Linked DNA regions of Homo sapiens: regions 2 and 3 are each linked to region 1. The links are contacts of gene promoters, found by promoter capture Hi-C in human tissues and cell types (Jung and others, 2019). All regions are on one chromosome and are shown on one strand. Each heading gives the region's core, a stretch centred on a gene start or on the middle of the fragment in contact. The rest is flanking DNA. Distances are from core to core; before and after follow the strand shown. Region 1 holds the start of PHYH (phytanoyl-CoA 2-hydroxylase). Region 2 overlaps NUDT5 (nudix hydrolase 5). Region 3 holds the start of NMT2 (N-myristoyltransferase 2).

What was found. Contacts are between HindIII fragments. The study calls those that stand out against the background at their distance.
Region 2: a contact is called between a fragment that was not itself captured here and the fragment with the promoter of PHYH in region 1, in 2 of the 25 tissues and cell types used here (dorsolateral prefrontal cortex and lymphoblastoid cells).
Region 3: the fragment with the promoter of NMT2 here is called in contact with the fragment with the promoter of PHYH in region 1 in 1 of the 25 tissues and cell types used here (aorta).

What each region holds. Positions count from the first base shown.
Region 1 is chr10:13,298,775-13,301,474 of GRCh38, reverse strand. PHYH (phytanoyl-CoA 2-hydroxylase) reads left to right here and starts at 1,411. Exons shown (of 9, transcript NM_006214.4): 1 at 1,411-1,507. The coding sequence starts at 1,433. LOC124902377 (a long non-coding RNA gene) reads right to left here and starts at 1,286. Exons shown (of 2, transcript XR_007062056.1): 1 at 1,069-1,286. RefSeq lists enhancers at 1,085-1,224, 1,801-2,421 and a silencer at 1,405-1,824. The HindIII fragment of the contact is 22,205 bases long and covers 1-2,700 here.
Region 2 is chr10:12,187,262-12,189,961 of GRCh38, reverse strand. All of the region lies in intron 1 of NUDT5 (nudix hydrolase 5), which reads left to right. Among named protein-coding and RNA genes, the nearest start is that of NUDT5, 7.3 kb to the left of the region's middle. The HindIII fragment of the contact is 4,727 bases long and covers 1-2,700 here.
Region 3 is chr10:15,167,309-15,170,008 of GRCh38, reverse strand. It overlaps NMT2 (N-myristoyltransferase 2), which reads left to right and starts at 1,316. Exons shown (of 12, transcript NM_004808.3): 1 at 1,316-1,506. The coding sequence starts at 1,397. RefSeq lists a silencer at 1,117-1,946. The HindIII fragment of the contact is 12,871 bases long and covers 1-2,700 here.

The sequences.
Region 1 (2,700 bases), core at 162-2,661:
TTTTAAGGGCTTGTAACTCTAAGGGTCTACGTGAAAGTTTAGTGAGAGATCGAGCAAGCGTGGGGAACATGACTGGGGGCTACAGGCAACAGCTAACAGAACAGAAAGTTTTGCAATGCTTCCTCATACAATGTCTGGAATTTTTATTTATTTAATTTATTGATTTATTTTTTATTTTTTTTGAGACGGAGTCTTGCTCTGTCGCCCAGGCTGGAGTGCGGTGGCGCCATCTCGCTCACTGCAAGGTCCGCCTCCTGGGTTTACACCGTTCTCCTGCCTCAGCCTCCTGAGTAGCTGGGACTACAGGCGCCCGCCACGACGCCCGGCTAATTTTTTTGTAGATCAGGTGTTCTCACTATGTTACCCAGGCTGCTTTCGATCTATAGCGATCCTGAGCTCAAGCGATCCTCCTGCCTCGGCCTCCCAAAGTGTTGGAGTTACGGGCGTGAGCCACCGCACCCGGCTAAAAACCTGTTTGTTTGTTTGTTTGTTTGTTTAGAGACGGAGTCTTGCCCTGTCACCCAGGCTGGAATGCAGTGGCGCCATCTCGCTGACTGCATCCTCCGCCTCCCGGTTGCAAGTGATTCTCTTGCCTCAGCCTCCCCAGTAGCTGGGATTACAGGCGTGCGCCACAACACTCAGCTAATTTTTGTATCTTTAGTAGAGACGGGTTTTCACCAAGTTGGCCAGGCTGGTCTCGAACTCCTGACCCCGTGATCCGCCTGCCTTGGCCTCCCAAAGTGCTGGGATTACAGGCGTGAGCCACCGCGCCCGGCAAACTTTTTGTTTAAATCGGAGATTTTATTCTTTCAGCTGTCAGTGGAAGGAGCAGTCACGTAGGGTTAAACAGATGGAAGCCATGACGTTAGGAGAGTGAGTGAGGTCCCAGCCCAGCCACTTGTCACTGTGTGACCTCGGCCTGGTCACTGGGCCCCCGAGCTTCGGTGCGGCAGGGAGGGTCCTGGTGATGGAACAGAAACAGGGTGCGGGGCAGGGGTAATGACTCACGCCTGTAGTCCCAGCACTTTGGGAGGTCGAGACGGGAGGCGGGGGGAGTTTGAGACCCACCTGGGCAACGTAGCGAGACCCCATCTCTACAAAAAATAAAAATTAGCCCAAGAGTTCAAGGCTGCAGTGAGCTATGATCGCGCACTGCACTCCAGCCTGGGCGACAGAGCAAGATCTTGTTTCTTTTTAAAAAGAAAGAAAATAAAGGACGGAAGGATCATGGTGTGGGGAGGACTTCAGCCCCGGGCGGTTGCCCGGCGCGCGGACTCTAGCGGACTAGGGCTCCCCAGCAGCCCGGCCCGCGAGCTGGCACCGCCCGGAATCCCGCTTACGTCCAGTCCGGGGCGGCGCCTGGAGGCGGAGCCGCCCGCTGGGCTAAATGGGGCAGAGGCCGGGAGGGGTGGGGGTTCCCCGCGCCGCAGCCATGGAGCAGCTTCGCGCCGCCGCCCGTCTGCAGATTGTTCTGGGCCACCTCGGCCGCCCCTCGGCCGGGGCTGTCGTATCCTTTGGGCTGCGCGGGGCTCGGGCTGGATCCGGCGCCGGCGCCGCCGCCTGAGTGGTGGCCCTGGTCCGGGTGGAGGCCTCGGGGTCGCACGCTTCGCAGCCCCAGCGCCTCCTCGCTCAGCGCCGCGTCCCCGCCTGGGTCGCGTCTCTTCCAGGAGCCGGGGAGCGGGGAAGAGGCTGCGTCCCCCGAGGACACGCGCGGCCGCCCTGGGGTCGGGGCAATTGCCGCGTTGCCCTGCCCTCCGGGATCCCTGGGGGCCTCTGCTCCTCTCTTTGTGGAGACGTCGTTTCACCGGCGGCGCGTGACCCCGGCAGCTGTCCAGAGACCCAGAGATGTCCAATCACAGGCGCACGGTGCACAGGCGCGCAGGGCTGCCTGGAACCGGCCCAGGCAGGCAGTGACCGGGACCTCTCCGGAGGGGAGAGGACGGTGCCCTCCCGGGCAGGAGCTGGCCAGGCAGGCGCTGCCCAGGGCGGCCTCCCTGCTGGACTACGGCATTGCCACTGAGTTATATAAAGACACTATTTGGGGAAGGACAGCGGGTGAGGACTGGCGCGGCGGCACACGCCTTGCCTGTTGTCTCGGCTCTTCTGGGGGCCAAGGCCAGGAGTCCAGGGTTACAGTGAGCCGTGATGGCCAGTGCGTTCCAAAAGAGAGAAACAGAGAGAAAGAAAGGATAACATGTTAATTGATGAGAGTGACATTCCGAAAGTAACCGATTAAGCTAAAGAAACAATGCAATTCTATGTCAACTCTCTGCAGTTACCGGATAGAAAGGAGATCTTTAAAAGGAATTTCTAGGGTTTTGCTTTTTTGGTTTTTTTTTTTTTTTGAAACAGGGCCTCACTCTGTCACCCAGGCTGGAGTGCAGTAGTGGTACGATCTCGGCTCACTCCTGGGCTCAAGAGATCCTTCCACCTCAGCCTCCTAAGTAGTTGGGACTACAGGGTTGCGCCACGATGCCAGGCGAATTTATGTTGTTGTTGTTATTGTTGTTATTATTATTATTATTATTATTATTATTATTATTATTATTATTTTTGAGACGGAGTCTTGCTCTGTGGTCAGGCTGGAGTGCAGTGCCGCACTCTGCAATGTCGGCCCACTGCAACCTCCGCCTCCCAGGTTCAAGCCATTCCCCTGCCTCAGCCTCCCAAGTGTAATTTGTATTATTATTATTAGTAGTA
Region 2 (2,700 bases), core at 35-2,534, 1.1 Mb after region 1:
AGATCGCGCCACTGCACTCCAGCCTGGGCGACAAGGCAAGACTCTGTCTCAAAAAAAAAAAAAAAAATTGTAGAACACTCAACATCGTGTACATGTATCTTTTTCATACCATACACATATTGGCAATATGCAAATTACCTTAAATTCTAACTAATGAAGTGGATAAAATTTATATCAAAGTTTGCTTTTAAATCTTGAAATAGCGTTGAGTCAGTGAAGGCAAACTCCGTTGCAGTGGCGGAGACGCTGGCTTACAAAGCACGGAATTTAAAGCTCATTTCTCGTTCTTTCTGCAGCGTGTTGCTGGCAGTGACTGGCCCCCGAATGGCACTATTTGGCTTCTGCTTTTGAAATGGTGCTAAAAACAACATTCCTTTTCTGTTTCTAAAAATTTCTGAGGTACTTTTACAGTCCTTCTGAAATGTTTGGGAATCTCATAGTTAAGAATATGCTCTTGAAATAGCTCATTTTTGTCATTCACGGAATCAGTGGATTGCTGCACGATACTGTTTCCCTTTGAGGCTGATTGCATTCCAAAGAAATACTCTCTTTTAGCGGCCAGGCACGGTGGTTCACGCCTGTAATCCCAGCACTTTGGGAGGCTGAGGCTGGTGGATCACCTGAGGTCAGGAGTTCGAGGCCAGCCTGCCCAACATGGCAAAACCCCATCTCTACTAAAAATGTAAAAATTAGCCGGGTGCAGTGGTAGGAGCCTGTAATCCCAGGTACTCGGGAGGCTGAGGCAGGAGAATCGCTTGAATCCGTGAGGCAGAGGTTGCAGTGAGCCGAGATCATGCCTTTGCACTCCAGCCGGGCAACAAGAGCGAAACTCCATCTCAAAAAAAAAAGTTTACCTAATAAATTATCATCTATGGTACTTTCAAAGGAATAAGTGCCTGTTTTCTTAGTAGGGCTGCAGGTTTCAATATGCTAATGTCTGTCTCTAAATATTTAAACTTCTACGTGGTTTACTTCCTTATTGCTTTCAGGTCTCCATTCAGAAGTCACCAAATTAAACAGGCCTTGCCTGATCACTCCGTGTAGATTACTCTTCCCATCTTCCCCACACTTCTCATCCTTTTTAATCTTTCTTCATGAAACGCTGAGTCACTTGACATAAATTTTGTGTTCTTCCTCACTGTTTTTCCTTTCTCCTCACTGGAAAATGAGGTCCGGGGGAGTGAGGGTCTTTGTCCCTCTCACCACCACTTTTTTTTTTTTTTTTTTTTTTTTAGATGGAGTCTTGCTCTGTCGCCAGGCTGCAGTGCAGTGGCACGATCTCAGCTCACTGCAACCTCCATCTCCTGGGTTCAAGCCATTCTCCTCCCTCAGCCTTCCCTGTAGTTGGGGCTACAGGCGCACCCCACCACGTCCAGCTAATTTTTGTATTTTTAGTAGAGACAGGGTTTCACCATGTTGGCCAGGATGGTCTCCATCTCTTGACCTCGTGATCCACCCGCCCTGGCCTCCCAAAGTGCTGGGATTGTAGGCGTGAGGCGTGAGCCACCGCACCCGGCCTCACCGCCACTTTCCTAAAACATCATCTCACCTTTCACAGGTTGGCCACAAGGGTTACCTATGATAGTCAATCAGATATTTGATTTGTAAACGCACTTTATGAATATTCATACAGTTGGTTTTGTTATTGATTGTATTTTAGAATAGGGAAGCTTGCTGTCTTGGGGACAAATTGAAGATCAGATGGGTAGTATGATCACTTTGGGTCCCAGAAGAAACAAAGAGCAGACTCACTTTTTCCTTTAGGACAGTTGGGAAGAGAGTTGATGCTGGGTGGGCTGTATTTTCTTTGAAGCCGAAGTTAGGTGGGGTAGGTTAGAGAACCGTGGAACGTAAGAGTGCAGTGGCGTGATCTCGGCTCTCTGCAACCCCCAACTCCTGGGTCCAAATGACCCTCCTGCCTCAGCTTCCTGAGTAGCTGGGACTACAGGTGCCCACCACCACACCCGGCTAATTTTTTTATTTTTTATTTTTGTGGAGACAGGGTTTTGCCATGTTACCCAGGCTGGTCTCAGACTCTTGGTCCCCCAAAGGGCTAGGATTCCAGGTGTGAGCCACTGTGCCTGGTCCAAGTAACAGTTCTTAAAAGAAACAACAGAGAAAACACAGGGGAGGAAATCATCAGTGAAGTCGTTCAAGAAAAAAATTCCCTGTAAAGAAGCATAGTAAGAAGTTTCCAGATTGAAAGGACCCACTTGACTTCCCAGTACAATAACATCGACATGAAAGTGACTAACTACAAGCTTCCAGAGGAGGAAGACAGGTCACATGGCAAAAAGATCAAGAATAAGAATAGCTTTGGACTTCTCAACAGCAGCACCAGAAGTAAGACAACTAAGCAATGCCTTACAGTTTCATAGACAACTGGCTTTGGGTCTATAATTCTATATACAGCTGAATTAACAACCATGTGTGTGGGTAAGAAAAAAAGACTTTGACCTTCGGACAGGCAAGGTCCGAAAATGAAGGAATAAAGAAAGAGGAAATAATAATATACAATAAATGGGATAAGGGCCTGCTCTTTTCATAACAGAACTTGTAGTACTACTCGATCCTTTCTCTGCAACTATGACTTTGATACATGCTGAAACTTAAAAGTAAGTGGGGAGGTGGGTCCAGTGGCTCATGCCTGTAATCCCAGCACTTTGGGACACCGAGGCGGGAGGAGGATCGCTTGAGCCC
Region 3 (2,700 bases), core at 67-2,566, 1.9 Mb before region 1:
AAAACATAGTCTCCCTTGGGGAAAAAAGCCATAAAATGCTCCTAGTATCTTCTGCAAAAAAAGGACCCACACCAAAAAATTCAGGTGGCTCTTTAAAGTCTCATTTTCCTCACTGAGCGGGTTCTGATGATTATCTTTGCAAAACCACTGCGGAGACTTCCGGTGGCCTAGCAGCACATTTGAACAAGATCATCTCAGCAAAGCAAAGGACAGGACTGCTCTGTACAGAATGCAGTAGCAAATAAGAGAGGCTGAACTTCACCGGTCTTCTATTTGGCAGTACTACAGAATGCCTCCCTTCCCTCTTCTGAGAGAGACAGCGGACAATTTCAGCACAGAAGGCCGTGCACGTTTGCTTGGAAATCTAGGTCATGACCTTGACTTTGGGAAAGCCAGGGTAGCCTACCTGAAACTGTCCAATCCCCCAGCATCGTGGACACGTCCCCAAGTCCCTCAAGATGTCTGTTCTGGTCTGAGCCGTCCGTAGTAGTGTCCAGGGAAAGCAGGGGTAGCTCAAAAATTTCTGTCAAGAGTTTTAGTGCTGCAAGCCTGGTTGGGACAGGGCGGTGGAGGGCTGGAAATACTGTTTTTGACTTTGAATTTGATTTTATAATGTATTAGATGGATAGATAGATGCGAAATGGAATTGTTAACATGTATGTGGAGGGGCGGGAAGAGTTTCTGGAAAGCCCCATCCCTGAGTGCCTACTCCTGAGTGGGAAAAACCCCTGCACGGGCTGGGAGCGCTCCCTAATTCGTCCAGAAGTAAAATCGCATGGCCTGTGTTCCAAAAATGCCGCCACTCAGGATGTCAAGTCTGCACGTTTGCAGCTTTGAGAGCCGAGCCCCAGGCAGAGGCACCGCGCAGGCCTGGATGTACAGGACTCGGCCCTGTGCAGGGCTGGCCAGGGTGAGCAGGGTTGGAGCTGGCGGGGCGGGGAGGGGCGGGGCCATCTGGGAGGGGCTGCGGCGGTGGGCGGGGTTAGAGGGCGGGTTTGAAGCCGGCAGGGTGGGGAAAGGCGGGGCTGGAGGGGAGGGGTCTCAGAGGCGGGCGGGGTTAGAGAGCTGGATTGAAGCCGGCGGGACGGGGAGAGGCGGGGCTTGGTGGGGAGGGACGAAGAGGTGGGCGGGGTTCAAGCCCGTGGGGCAGGGCGGGGCCGGCGGGCAGGGCGGGGCCGGCGGGCTGGGCGCGGACGGTGAGGGGCGGGGATGGAGGGCGGGGCGGGACGGAGGGCGGGGAGGGGGCGGGACGGAGGGCGGGACGGGGCGCGGGCGGGGCGGGGCGGGGCGTAGCGCCCGGGCTCCGACTCCAAGCAGTACGGCGGGAGGCACTAGAGGGAGCTGCGGCCGCTCCGGCCCGGCCCCGAGCACCGCCTCCCCAGCCAGCGCCGCCGCGATGGCGGAGGACAGCGAGTCTGCGGCCAGCCAGCAGAGCCTGGAACTGGACGACCAGGACACGTGCGGGATAGACGGGGACAATGAGGAGGAGACGGAGCACGCCAAAGGGTAGGGGCGGCGCGCTGGCGCACCGGGCGCGACAGGGCGGGGACCGCGCGCGCCACGGTCTCCCGTTCGGGGGTGGCTCCCAGGACTGGGGGTTCTTCGGCCGCTCCGCCCCGCGATGGCTTCTCCGTGGCGCGGAGCCCATGGTGAGGTCCGGGGCGCGCGGCTCGCGGGAGAGTGCAGTGCGCGGGGAGGCGAGGCCCGGGGTGGGCGGGGAGGCTGGGGCCCGGGCGGGGAGACGCTACTGTCACTTGCCGCGCGCCCCCGGCCAGCCTCGCCCATCCCCGCCGGCGGCCTGGCCCAGGAGGCGCCTGTTGCCCTCGCCCGCGGGTGGCTCCGGTGGGCGCCGAGGAGAGGCGCTACGCCCTTCCCTTTGTGGCGGCCGCAGCCTGGGGTAGGAGGTCGCCCTCCTCTGCTCCCTGCCATCCTTGTTAAGTCCCTTCAGACTCCCTCTCCGCAGCCGCCACCCGAAAAGAATGGGCAAAGACGTGGGTGGAGCGGCGTGGAGGTGCCCCGATGGTGTCGGGGCCGCAGGCGGCGAACTGCGCAAAGTTCTGGCGCCGAGGGGGTCCCGGGCCCGGCCCCTGCTGGGGATACTGGGCTTTGCACCGCCTCGCCTGTCCCTAGAGCTCTTCAGAGCAGGGCCGATCCCCTGAACCGGGCTCCCGCTGACCTGGCCGTATCCTGTTTGCAAAGCTGGTATTTGATCTCCAAAACTCGATGCACCACGCATTTTCACACTTGATCGGATTTCTTAATCCTTTCCCTTTGCCCCCGAACCCTGCAGACTTGATTTGCTCTTCTGTTGGAGAAAAGGATTGCTTCAGGTGAAGGCCGGTGTTGATGCTCTCTTTTTAGAGGCAGTGGGTCATTTTAAATAAAAACTGGTGTCCTTTTAAAGTGCTGTTTACATTACCCTTTTACCCTATTGGATTCAAACTATGCGCTGGCACAGAGCGGTTCTTGCTACACCCTTAGAAGTGAGATTTTTCGAACCATGGTGAGTGATGGAGAAGTGGGTCAGCTTAAAAAACATGATAGGGAGGCCTGAGTCACAGATGGTTTACTCAGTTCGTAGAGAGATTCTTGAAATGATTGATCATTGAAAGTGTAAATCATTTGCATTCTACTTGTCTACTTTAAGATTTATTATAGAAAGGGACTTTTGACTGACCTCTAATTCATTATAAAATATTA